Linked DNA regions of Homo sapiens: region 1 is linked to region 2. The links are contacts of gene promoters, found by promoter capture Hi-C in blood cells and fetal thymus (Javierre and others, 2016). All regions are on one chromosome and are shown on one strand. Each heading gives the region's core, a stretch centred on a gene start or on the middle of the fragment in contact. The rest is flanking DNA. Distances are from core to core; before and after follow the strand shown.

Region 1 (7,100 bases), core at 920-3,419, 2.7 Mb after region 2:
TACCTTATATGTTTAATAGAACATATCTCATCTATATTTTGTAATTCATTTTTATAAAACTGCCTGTAAATAGAAAAATTTTATTATCTCTTTCATGTCTACAGCTTCTACATTTATGTCCCCTCTTACTTTTTTTTTTTTTGGAGAGACAGTGTCTCACTATGTTGCCTAGACCAGTTTCAAACTCCTGGGCTCAAGTGATCCTTCTGCCTCAGCCTCCCAAAGCGTTGGAACTACAGGTGTGAGCCAGCCCGCCTGGCCCCTCTTACATTCTTTGTTGTTGTTGTTTTGTTGTTGTTGTCTTTGTTGTTTTTTGAAGCAGAGTCTCCCTCTGTGGCCCAGGCTGGAGTGCAGTGGCTTGATCGTGGCTCACTGCAACCTCCGCCTCCCAGGTTCAAGCCATTCTCCTGCCTCAGCTTCCCGAGTAGCTAGGACTGTAGGCATATGCCACCACGCCCAGCTAATTTTTTTTATAATTTTAGTAGAGATGGGTTTTCACCATGTTGGCCAGGCTGGCCTCAAGCTCCTGACCTCCAGTGATCTTCCTGCCTTGGCCTCCCAAAATGCTGGGATTACAGGCATGAGCCACTGGGCCGAGCCCCCTTACATTCTTAATATAGTTTATTTGTGTCCTTTCTTTTTTCACTTTTTCACTCTTGCTTACAGGTTTTTCAATTGTGTTAGGCTTTTTAAAGAACTGCTTGTCTTTGTAATGCTCTATATTATAAATTTTAGTTGTATTTATTTACTTCTGCTCTTACATTAATTTTTCATTTTTGATCTTTGAATTTATTTTGCTGTTGTTTTCTAATTCTAATTTGGATGACTAGCTAATTAAAAAAAATGTTTTCCCACTTCTTAAATGTCAGCATTTATAGGCTTTTGCGCTATACATTTCACTCAAAGTAGATTTTGTGAAATGCCACAATATTTGGCATGTGGCATTTTCACAATTGTCAATTCAAAATGTTTTCTAGTTTTCAGTGTGACTTATTTTTTGATCCATGGCTTTACTTATAAGTGTATATTTAAAAATTTCCAAATATATCATTTGTTTTGACTATTACATTTTTCATTAAGGTATAACTGACAAATAAAAATTACGTATGTTTAAAAAAGGAATTGTATTTTGCTGCAAGTAACAGTGAGCTTGTTATGGTGTTTAAGCTGTTTCAACTGCTAAAAAACAACAACAACAAAACAGATATGGACAGGGCCATGGCTTATAAGGGAACTCCATCATTCTCAGGACCTAATTTCCTCCATCTTGTTGCTCTGCCATCCCAAGTGGGCTGTTTTACAGTCCAAGAAAGCTGCTTAAGCTCCAGTCATCACGTCCACATCCCAGCCAGCAGAAAGGCAAAAGATCTGACAAATGTTACATTCTAGTATCTTCCACTCCAGTATCGAAAACTTAGTTACATAGCCTGCATTATTAGCTAACAGAAAGGCTGAGAAATGCAGTTTTTTGCTGGACAGCAATGAGTGGCTTCAAATACATTTGGACGGCTGTTATAAAAAGAGTGAGGAGATCAGACGCCAGTGGCTCACTCCTGTAATCCCATCACTTTGAGAGGCCAAGGTGAAAGGATCCCTTAGGCCCAGGAGTTTGAGACCAGTCTGGGCAACATGGTGAAACTCTGTCTCTACAAAAATTTAAAAATTAGCCAGATGGTGCGTGCCTGTAGTCCCAGCTACTCAGGAGGCTGAGGCAAGAGGTCAAGGCTGTGCTGAGCCTTTGTTCATGCCACTGCACTCCAGCCTGGGTGGCAGAGCAAAACCCCATATCAACAAAGAAAGAAAGTGGGAGAATGGATGTTGAGACAGGCGACTTGCTGTCTCTTTCATAGTATGCTAACATTTATGTGATGAGGAGAATATATAATCTGTATATGTTAAGAAAAGTTTGGGATGTCTAGAAATACACAAGTACCTAGTAACAGTATGTATAGGTGTCTTTGGGAAGATCTGATGACTAGGGGAAAGGAAGAGAGACAAGCTTTGCAACTTACCATTTTGCCTTTTGAATTTTATATTATGGCCATGTATTTTTTAAAGAAAAAAATTACATGCAAAAACTAGCATTTGATGTTAAGATTTTCCAACTGGATCTGCTTTGTGGCTAAAAGTTTCCCTCCCCTGTAGCTTGAATATATACAACTAAAAGATATGTATAGATATGTATATGCAACTATATATATACAACTAAAATGTGTACAATGCAATGTTTTGATATATGTCTATCTTGTGAGGTGAGATACCATAATCAAGCTAATTCAAATTCACACATCCATCACCTCACACAGTTACCATTTCTATGTGTGTGTGGTGAGAACATTTAAGCTTTTTTTTTTTTTTTTTTTGAGATGGAGTCTTGTTCTGTCTCTCAGGCTGGAGTGCAATGGCGTGATCTTGGCTCACTGCAACCTCCACCTCCCAGGTTCAAGCGATTCTTCTGCCTCAGCCTCCCGAGTAGCTGGGATTAAAGGCGTGCACCACCATGCATGGCTAATTTTTGTATTTTTAGTAGAGTCAGGATTTCGACGTGTTGGCCAGGCTGGTCTCGAACTCCTGACCTCAGGTAATCCACCCTCCTCGGCCTCCCAAAGTACTAGGATTACAGGCATGAGCCACATTACCTGGCCACATTTAAGCTTTTTAACTAAAAGTTTATTGGGAGAATAAAGTGGAGGGCAGTTAAAATCCCTCTAGTGGAAGAAAAGACCTGGACAATATGAGCTGTGTTCATTATGACCACTGGGAAGATGAGTTTCACCCTTCACATGACTATATGGTGAGAACATGTTTCTCAGCTGAGACAAGATTTCAGGAAAGTTTGCAAGAACCGAGAGAAAATGGAAGAAAATGAAATATTTGTTCTTCAGAGTCACCAGTTTTATTATATGCCTGGACTCTGTCACTTATGTCAATAAATTTACAAATGCAAAATACACATTTAATTCCAGCGTGGTAGCATACACCTGTAGTCCTAGATACTCAGGAGGGTGAGTATCTAGGACTACAGGTGTGTGCTACCACGCTTGAACTCAGGAGTTCAAGGCCAGCCTGGACAACACAGGGAGACCCCCTCTCTAAATGTATATACACACATACACACACACACACACACACACACACATTCAAACATTGGAATCAGATGTCCTGGACAAAATGCTCAAATCAGCTGAACACTTTGGAATGCTTAACTTTTCTTTTTTTTAGATGTTTATTTATTTATTTATTTTGTTTTTTATTTTATTATTATTATACTTTAAGTTTTAGGGTACATGTGCGCAATGTGCAGGTTTGTTACATATGTATACATGTGCCATGTTGGTGTGCTGCACCCATTAACTCGTCATTTAGCATTAGGTATATCTCCAAATGCTATCCCTCCCCCCTCCCCCCACCCCACAACAGTCCCCGGAGTGTGATGTTCCCCTTCCTGTGTCCATGTGTTCTCATTGTTCAATTCCCACCTATGAGTGAGAACATGCGGTGTTTGGTTTTTTGTCCTTGTGATAGTTTGCTGAGGATGATGGTTTCCAGTTTCATCCATGTCCCTACAAAGGACATGAACTCATCATTTTTTATGGCTGCATAGTATTCCATGGTGTATATGTGCCACATTTTCTTAATCCAGTCTATCATTGTTGGACATTTGGGTTGGTTCCAAGTCTTTGCTATTGTGAATAGTGCCGCAATAAACCTACGTGTGCATGTGTCTTTATAGCAGCATGATTTATAATCCTTTGGGTATATACCCAGTAATGGGATGGCTGGGTCAAATGGTATTTGTAGTTCTAGATCCCTGAGGAATCGCCACACTGACTTCCACAATGGTTGAACTAGTTTACGGTCCCACCAACAGTGTAAAAGTGTTCCTATTTCTCCACATCCTCTCCAGCACCTGTTGTTTCCTGACTTTTTAATGATCACCATTCTAACTGGTGTGAGATGGTATCTCATTGTGGTTTTGATTTGCATTTCTCTGATGGCCAGTGATGATGAGCATTTTTTCATGTGTTTTTTGGCTGCATAAATGTCTTCTTTTGAGAAGTGTCTGTTCATATCCTTCGCCCACTTTTTGATGGGGTTGTTTATTTTTTTCTTGTAAATTTGTTTGAGTTCATTGTAGATTCTGGATATTAGCCCTTTGTCAGATGAGTAGGTTGCAAAAATTTTCTCCCATTTCGTAGGTTGCTTGTTCACTCTGATGGTAGTTTCTTTTGCTGGAATGCTTAACTTTTCTTTCCTGCAAGAGGAAGACTGGGAGATTGAGAGGTGTGCCCAGGGTGTCAGCTCAGTGCCTGGTAGAGGCAGGTAACATGAGCTTTGAGCCCTGGCCTGTGGATTGTGTTGTGCTTGGACTGGCCTGTTACGCCATCTGCTTGCTTCTGCCTGAAATTCCTGTAACACAAGATAAAACCTCTCATTCTGCAATTTACCAATAAACCTTATAAAATCTGAGGCTAAGCCTTGTGAAATGGCAAACCCTAGAAAGCCAGAGAGCTGGCATGCGGTAGTTCAGCAGTGGCTGCAGGAAATAGAAGGAAAGGGAGTGAGGAGACAGGGTGCAAGCTGGAATGTGATCACAGGGGAGGGGGATCTCTGGACTATGGGGGAATGACGGGCAGCTTGAGGCCCTGAGATGAAAGACACTCCCTTTAAGAAAAACGTCTGTGACTCAGAGCCACAAGGCGTGTCAGGAGAAAGTTCTGATGAAACTGCATTCCATTCCTGGAGGAATACGCATTGCCATTGAAGTACAAACTCTAAAATGATGTAGGATTAATAATTAAGGCAACACTAGTAGTGGATGGTGGCCCAGAGAGCTTTCCCTAGCTTTGTTAATTTTCTTCTCTCCACAGCTTACGTAAGCAAATATTCACCCAAAGAGTAGAGAATGTTGAGACATTTAGCATTATGTATTAGTCTGTTCTCACAGTGCTATAAAAAAAAAATACCTGAGACTGGGTAATATATGAAGAGAAGTTTAATTGACTCAGTTCCGTAGACTGTACAGGAAGCACAGCTGAGGAGGCCTCAGGACACTTGCAGTCACGGCATGGGGCAAAGGGGAAGCAAGCACATCTTCACATGGCAACAGGAGAGAGAGCAAAGGGGGAAGCGCTACACACTTTTAAGCCACCAGATCTCATGAGAACTCACTCACTATCATGAGGACAGCAAGGGGGAAATTCTCCCCCATGAGCCAATCACCTCCCACCAGGTCCCTCCCCCAACATTAGGAATTACAATTTGCATGAGATTTGTGTGGCCACACGGAGCCAAACCATATCACATTGGTCAACCTATATAGTAATGTTTTTCTTAATCTAAATGTATACTAAGTTAGTGTTTTATCGATTTAAAAATACATCTTGAAAAGGATTTTGCAATTTACTTTTTTTTTTTTTTTGTGAGACAGAGTCTCACTCTTGTCCCCCAGGCTGGAGTGTAGTAGCGTGATCTTGGCTCGCTGCAATCTCTGCCTCCCAGGTTCAAGCAATTCTCCTGCCTCAGCCTCCTGAGTAGCTTGGATTACAGGCGCCTGCCACTACTCCCGGCTAATTTTTTGGTATTTTTAGTAGAGACAGGGTTTCACCATGTTGGCCAGGCTGGTTTCAAACTCCTGACCTCAAGTGATCCGCCCACCTCGGCTTCCCAAAGTGCTAGGATTACAGACGTGAGCCACCATGCCCAGCCCACAATTTCTTTTAAAACTAAACATATACAGTTGTCCATCAGTATCTGCAGGGGACTGGTTCCAGGTCTCCCTGCAAGTACCAAAATCACAGATGCTCAGGAATCTGATATAAAGCAGGGTAGTACTTGCATATAACCCACACACATCCTCCTGTATACTTTAAATCATCTCTAGATTACTTATAATACCTAGTACAAGGTGAAGACTATGTAAACAGTTGTTATACTGTATTTAAAAAAATAATTTCCACTTTCATTTTAGATTCAGGTGGTACATATGCAGGTTTGTTATATAAGTGTATTGCATGATGCTGAGGTTTGGAGTTCAATTGATCCCATCACTCAGATAGTGAGCATAATTATACTGTATACAGTTTAGGAAATAATAACAAGAAAAAAGTCTATACATATTCCATACAGACATGATCATCCTTTCCTCCCACCCCTTGATTTTTTATTGAATTCATGAATATTTGCTGAGTCCATGAATGTGGAACCCACGGATAGGGAAGGCTGACTGCACCTACATTATGACCTGGCAATTCCACACCTAGGTTACTCACCCGGGAGAAATAAAAGCATATGTCCTCAAAGAGGCTTGTTCAAAAATGTCCATAGCTTTATTCATAAATAACTGAAAGCTGAAAACAACCAATAGGAGAATGAATAAACTAACTGTGGTAAATTCAGACAATGAAATACTACACAATAAAAAAGGGAGGAACCGGCTGGGCGCGGTGGCTCACACCTGTAATCCCAGCACATTGGGAGGCCGAGGTGGGTGGATCACCTGGGGTCAAGAGTTCGAGACCAGCCTGGCCAACATGGTGAAACCCCATCTCTACTAAAAATACAAAAATAGTCAGGTGTGGTGGCACGCACCTCCAATCCCAGCTACTCGAAAGGCTGAGGCAGGAGAATCAGCTTGAATCCAGGAGGCAGAGGTTGCAGTGAGCTGAGATTGTGCCACTGCACTCCAGCCTGGGTGACTCTGTCTCAAAAAAAAAGGGGGGGTGGGGGGAGGAACCATTGATACATACAACATCATGATGAATTCCAAAAATGTTGTACTGAATGGAAGAAGCCTTACACAAGAAAGCACATACTGTTTATATATTTATCATCCTAGAACAAGCAAAACTAATCTATGGACTAATCTAAGGTGGGGGCAGGGGAATCCAGAGAAAGGGTTACCTTTGGGAGTTGGGCCATGGGGTTGGGGACCAGCTGTGCAGGGGAGCTTTCAGGGCAGTCTTAAGGTACTGGATCTCACCAGGGGTTTGCCTTGCTTGTATACATGGCCTTCCTTGCAACTTGCTGAATGGCACACTTATAAACTGTGCATTTTTTGTATTTAAATTTTACCTCAAAAGAAGAAGAAATCAACCAAC
Region 2 (6,629 bases), core at 3,679-6,178:
AGACCACTGCCTGGCACATAGGCATGGAAAGATGTGTTGAATGAATGAATGAAGACTGGGTAATTAGCCTTTCTCTTCTTTTTAAAAAGCTGTCAGTGACTTTCATTTTAACCTGATTTTACCACCAGTGTGCTTTTCCCTGGCTCCACATGCCACTGGTTACGGCTTTGCTAGTTAAGGGGATTACTAACAGGATAATGTCATATTTTTATGTTACCTCCTAGTGACACAGAGACACATCCTGGACAGGAGGTACAGAGTGGGGTCACAAAATGGACTGAAGCTCAGAGGCCAGCACAGGCCAGGGAGCCTCATGCACCCCAGTTAACTAAGTGTCCAATCATTTCTTGGAATAAAACTCTTCAGGGATAGTAAAACTAGTCATGGAAATGTGTTAAGCATTGTTTTGCTCAGAAAAAAAATTGAAGACTTAGTCTGCACATGTTAATTACTCAATGAAAATTTCACAAACGATTTAATCATCTGGATGTCTCGAAATATTCTGTTGCTTAATATTATGTAGACAGCCTAAATCCTAGGGTCATAGAGATCTGAGCTTGTGTGAAAAGCTTGAAACACGTACAAGTAACAGATTTGCTATTTGGGTTATGGTGTGGAAAAAAATCTCTGGAAACAGATTTATGTATTAGTTTTTCACTTTGCCACCAGATGTCCTTCATGAGTAGGAAAATATGATGACTTGAATGATATTTTGAAGTGTGAATGCCCAGCATTTTTGAGTAGACAGTGAAAGCGGAGTGTGACTGAATGTAAATGTTACCACAGACTTTTGGATGAGACAGGTCTTTTGAAGGCTGTCTTACAGGTGTAGCTTTCAGAAGCAATACTTATTTCACTTGCAAATTTTCATTTCTCATACTTTACAACCATTTATCTATTTTCTTTTCACTCAACTCTAAATCGATATTTTAAAAATTTGATCGAATTATTATACTTTGAAATTAACATTAAGAAGTACTCAGGTCCTTATGCTAATAGTAAAGATAAAAAGTTGGTCTTTGGAGTGGAACGTCTCAATAATTCAAGGAGGCTAGACCTCAGTCTTTTAAACATGACAGCTACACAGTTTACAAGATTTTTTTTTTTTTTTTTTGAGACAGGGTCTTGCTGTCACCCAGGCTGGAGTGCAGTGGTGTGATCTGGTGATCTGGGCTCACTGTAACCTCCACCTCCCTGGCTCAAGCGATCCTCCCACCTCAACCTCCTGAGGAGCTGGAACTACAGGCGTGCACCACCACACCCGGCTAATTTTTGTATTTTTTTTTTTTTTTTTTTTTTGTAGAAACAAGGTCTTACTAGGTTGCCCAGCCTGATCTCGAGCTCCTGGGCTCAAGTGATCTGCCTGCCTCAGCCTCTCAAAGTGTTGCTATTACATACCTGGCCAAGATATTTTTATTAAGTTAATTCTAAAAGCAGCAACTTACATCTTCAGGAAATGCAGTTGAAAGGGACCAATGTAAAATTTAATATAAAATCCAAGACTGAAGTTGCAGTTTATTGCTAATAAGGTAATATAGAATATGTGTTTAATATGTCAAATTAATAAACAGCATGTTTACAAAATAGAAGCTATTTGGTCAAGTGTGTTATAAATGTATAACAGAAACCCTCAGAATATATAAGGAACAAGGACAACTACAGGTTTAAAGGATTTGTTGCGTGAATTACATGGTGCCTTAATAAACACTTGGAGACAGAATTCCCGTCCTATTCCCACTATCACTGGAAGTATGGGATGAACCTGTGCTTTCTGGTGAGGGCTCCTCATTTCTTCATTAAGTGGGGCAGGGAGATGGGACAGGCAACGTATTGCCAGAAAACTGAAGGCCATCTGCATGAAATGTCAGCCAAGCAACCAGATGTTTGATTGGATTGGCTCCCACATCCGGCTTCTTGATCGAATTCCTCCTCTTTCCACCCAGATGTTTTAGAAACACAGAGAACTTCATGAAGCTTGTTCCGGGCCCGCAGAGGAAGGGGCGGTAATATTTTGGTGTCCTGCAGGGGGCGAAGTTACCTCTAATTTTATCAAGTCGGTTCATACATTCCAGCGGACTTCAAAGCCCAGATCTGCTCCTGTCCCTCCAACTCCACCCACCCCATGCCTCCTCCTCTTGAATCACATGTGGACGTTGTCTAGCTCCCTGTCCTGAGGCTTCCAGGGGAGCACTCGGGCTGTCTAATGGGGAAGGGTCCCAGAAGCAGGGAGTAGACAAGGTGGGGGTTAGGGGATTTTTATCCACCTAGAGGTCCAACTGGCTTGGAGAAAGAGTAGTCCCAATTTCAAGGTTATTAAAATCCTAGAACTGTATCTCTTCCTGTCCCCTTTGTCCCAATGGATACAAGGGCTTGCCTGCATGTGTCCCGCAAACATGATGTGCACATGTTGGGAGCCATAGTGGACAGAAGAGGAGCACATCCTCAGTTGGATGTCACTGTCCTTATGATCATTGTAATGTCTCACTGCACAGTTTTTTTAGGAGCTTCTTCTGGCTCTTAAGGGAGATGTGCGTTCTCATGTTCATCACCTGGAGGTACTCTCGACACCTCCTCATTCTAGCCCCATTCGACAGAAACTGAGAATCCATCTTGGTGGAGTGAGGAGCCTGCAACAGACCTGAATCAGAGTTGCTGCTCAGATGTTTAGTTGATAGTCACTTTAGACTCATGTCACATGAACCCATCTACTTCTTAGTGTCTAAGGAAAGGGAGAGATGGCGTGCGTGTGTGTGCATGTGTGTGTGTGTCTTCTGCACTAGGTCCACCCCATAGATGCATACACAAGTTGAGTATCCCTTATCCAAAGTGCTTGGGACCAGAAGTATTTCAAATTTCAGATTTTTAGATTTTGGAATATTTGCATATACATAATGAGATACCTTAGGGATGGGATCCAAGTCTAAACATGAAATTCATTTATGTTTCGTATATATCTCATATACATAGTCTGAAGGTAATTTAATACAATATTTCAAATGATTTTGTGGATGAAAATTTTGACTGTGTTTTGACCATGTCCCATCCTATGAGGTCAGGTGTGGAATTTTCCATCTGAGGCATCATGTCAGCTCTCAGAAATCTTTAGATTTTGGAGCATTTTGGATGTCAGATTTTTGGGTTAGGGATGCTCAACCTCTACAATAGGTGGGTCACCCCTCGATTTTGTGTTTTAAATGACATAGCCCCACCAAGGTGCCCTCATCCATGCTTGAAATGTTGAGTTTCCTGTGTCTTCCCCACTGCCCTCGTAGGTAGAAAGTCTTTTACTCTGCCTGCATCTCACCAGAAGTCTTATGAGGAAGGTGCAACTAGGTTTAAAAAAGGAGGCTCTTGGCAGGAAGCCTAGGTGTATTTGCTGGAATTTCAGATCTTCTGAGCAGAGCTCTTGGCTGCTGTGGGGCACTGCAGTGAATTTATGTCCCTAACATGTTCCCTACAGAAAAAAGAAGTGACAGGGCTCTTGAATTCTGAGGGTCCGGGCATCCCAGACAAAGTATCGTATTATCTTTTCGGATGGAAGAAATCCCTGTAGAGATGGTTAAAGACTGGCATTCACATAAGTTTTGTGCCCTGAAATTCATAGCTATCAGATATTTGTAGAAATAAAGACTCTTCTAAATGACCACTTGTGTCTGGGCCAAGGCAGAACTAGAAAGAAGGACTCAGTGGGTAGTTGGAGTCAGTGGTGGTCTCTATTTACCCATGAGAAATAGATTCTTGGAAATAGGATAGGAATGCTTATAAGATTTGGACCAACAGAAAGCCTATGATCTCATAAATTCATGAATCCCACAGTCTATAATCTATTTGACTTCACTCTCAAATGCCTAGGACCATTTGGACTAAGGCTGGCAAGTCAGAAAATTGCAGTTTTTATTTTCAACTCCACACAATTTTCACCAAGTAAAAAACCTTCATGTTTTACGTGAATTTGCTTCTACGATCCATAGATGACTGGATGTTCTCGGGCGGGGTAAAGGCAAATGAATTTGTGTCCTCATTGGCAAATGGTGTTGGTGGTGGTGTTATCTTGTCTAAAATCCACAGGAACCTGTGTTTCAGGACCCTGTCTATTGTCCTGACCATTCAGAATGCATGCCAAGCCCCTGCTCTTCCTGGAGTTATCTTTATCACCTCTCCTCAAGTTTTATCTTGCACCATATAAGTCACATTGTATTTCAATATTAAAATGCAACATTAATAGATAAGCTGGAGAATCAAGACATTTCCAAGAAGACAGGGGACGCCTTTTCTAATATATCGTCTGATTACACCCTCTTTCTTTTGGGTGCTAGCTTAAGAAGCCAAACCAAAGCACAAATGAACAGAGAAGTCAACACATCCGACCCCAAACCCTCAGGACGCTGGCTTGGGTTACATGTGGCCCTCTCTGTGGTCAGTTTGTGAGTAGCCTCCCCGGAGGGTGTGTCCCAACTTCCAGCAGCTGCCGTGGAAAGCCACGTGTCCGCTAAACGCCTACATTACATCAATAAGAGAAACTAAGGAAGGGATGGAAAAGCTATCATTTTTCTTTTCTTCCTCAGTTCTGGCAGTATAGTGATTTAATCGCTGTTATTATTTTTATTTAGTTAAAGCATCAACTTAGGCCTTTTAAATGATGGTAAAAGAGAAAGCTTCAGATCGGGGTATTGGTCAGATCATTCTTACTAGCGATGACCTCTTCGCCTTTGGCACCTCGCGGCTCTTCGCATGCCTCCAAGAATTCCCGGGTCTTGAAACCTACGCGCGGCGGAGGCGACGCCTCTCGGGAGAGGGAGGGTGAAAGAAGGGGCGGGGCTATTTAAATAGCCCGCGAGCTTCGCGTCCCCATTGGCTGCCAGCCTGTCGGTTACCGCGGGGCGGGGAGTCCCGGGGCTGGAGTGAGGTACCTGAGCCGGGCGCGCAGCAGAAAGCCCACGTTGGCCGCTGCGGGGAGCGCGGCGTGGAGAGGCGGGAGACCGAATTCCGGCGCCGCCGCCGCGGCCGCTGCTCGGTGCACTAGCCCCCTTCCTTCCCATCCTTTCTGCGAGCGGGTTTGCTGGGCAGCCGGGCGACCGCCGAACGGAAAGCAAGATCCTCGCCGCCTCCGCTTGAGGAGGCGTGCGGCGCGCGGAGATTTTGAGTGGGAGCGACGGTGCCCGAGAGCTCAGGGGCGCGGAGTTCGTGAGCGAGAAGGAAGTTAAACCTCGCGGAATAGACTGGCATTTCGGGACGCCTTGTCGCCGCAGCCTGGGCCCTGCAACGGGGTAAACTTCATGGTGGCCCTGCGATCTGGGGAGGGGCGTGCGCCACGGTGATGCCGGGCATCTCCCGCAGCTCGTGAGCGGCCCCGCTCCCCGCTGCCCCGGGTCCCACTCAGTCGCCAGGGAGAGCGCGGGGCAGCGCACGTGTGCGGCCAGCGAGGCCCAGAGTGACCGCGCCGCGACTCGCAGGAGCCAGGGCGCAGGCTGCAGTGCAGCCCGGACTCAGACGCACCTGGCCTGGACCGCGCGCCTCTAGAGACCTGCGCGAGGCTGTGAGGCTCCCCTTCCTCCCCTCCAAGCGGTTCTCCTGGTGATCGCCCCTTCGCCACCTCTCTAGCCTGGGCAACTGGGGGCGCCCCGGACGACCATGAGAGATAAGGACTGAGGGCCAGGAAGGGGAAGCGAGCCCGCCGAGAGGTGGCGGGGACTGCTCACGCCAAGGGCCACAGCGGCCGCGCTCCGGCCTCGCTCCGCCGCTCCACGCCTCGCGGGATCCGCGGGGGCAGCCCGGCCGGGCGGGGATGCCGGGGCTGGGGCGGAGGGCGCAGTGGCTGTGCTGGTGGTGGGGGCTGCTGTGCAGCTGCTGCGGGCCCCCGCCGCTGCGGCCGCCCTTGCCCGCTGCCGCGGCCGCCGCCGCCGGGGGGCAGCTGCTGGGGGACGGCGGGAGCCCCGGCCGCACGGAGCAGCCGCCGCCGTCGCCGCAGTCCTCCTCGGGCTTCCTGTACCGGCGGCTCAAGACGCAGGAGAAGCGGGAGATGCAGAAGGAGATCTTGTCGGTGCTGGGGCTCCCGCACCGGCCCCGGCCCCTGCACGGCCTCCAACAGCCGCAGCCCCCGGCGCTCCGGCAGCAGGAGGAGCAGCAGCAGCAGCAGCAGCTGCCTCGCGGAGAGCCCCCTCCCGGGCGACTGAAGTCCGCGCCCCTCTTCATGCTGGATCTGTACAACGCCCTGTCCGCCGACAACGACGAGGACGGGGCGTCGGAGGGGGAGAGGCAGCAGTCCTGGCCCCACGAAGCAGCCAGCTCGTCCCAGCGTCGGCAGCCGCCCCCGGGCGCCGCGCACCCGCTCAACCGCAAGAGCCTTCTGGCCCCCGGATCTGGCAGCGGCGGCGCGTCCCCACTGACCAGCGCGCAGGACAGCGCCTTCCTCAACGACGCGGACATGGTCATGAGCTTTGTGAACCTGGGTAAGGATTTGGGGTAACGTAATGACGAGAACATTTCCCCCTTTTCAGTGTCCCGGGCCCAGGGGATGGAGTGAGGGGGTGGAGGAGCTCCCGGCGCGCGGGTCCCGCCTGGTGCGCCAGAGAACGCGGGGACAGGCAGGCTGTGCTCCCGCCACCTGCGCGGCGGTGGGCGGCACATGC

What was found. Contacts are between HindIII fragments. The CHiCAGO score rates a contact against its expected background, and 5 or more counts as called.
Region 1: a fragment that was not itself captured here is called in contact with the fragment with the promoter of BMP6 in region 2 in 3 of 17 cell types (M2 macrophages, total B cells and total CD8 T cells); the score reaches 7.5 in M2 macrophages.

The regions. Positions count from the first base shown.
Region 1 is chr6:10,436,753-10,443,852 of GRCh38, forward strand. The region is part of intron 1 of MIR5689HG (MIR5689 host gene); the gene reads left to right. It overlaps MIR5689 (microRNA 5689), which reads left to right and starts at 2,965; the gene lies at 2,965-3,042. RefSeq lists enhancers at 3,983-4,483, 4,484-4,984. The HindIII fragment of the contact is 344 bases long and covers 1,998-2,341 here.
Region 2 is chr6:7,721,171-7,727,799 of GRCh38, forward strand. BMP6 (bone morphogenetic protein 6) reads left to right here and starts at 4,929. Exons shown (of 7, transcript NM_001718.6): 1 at 4,929-6,449. The coding sequence starts at 5,786. RefSeq lists an enhancer at 2,105-2,164. The HindIII fragment of the contact is 3,909 bases long and covers 4,654-6,629 here.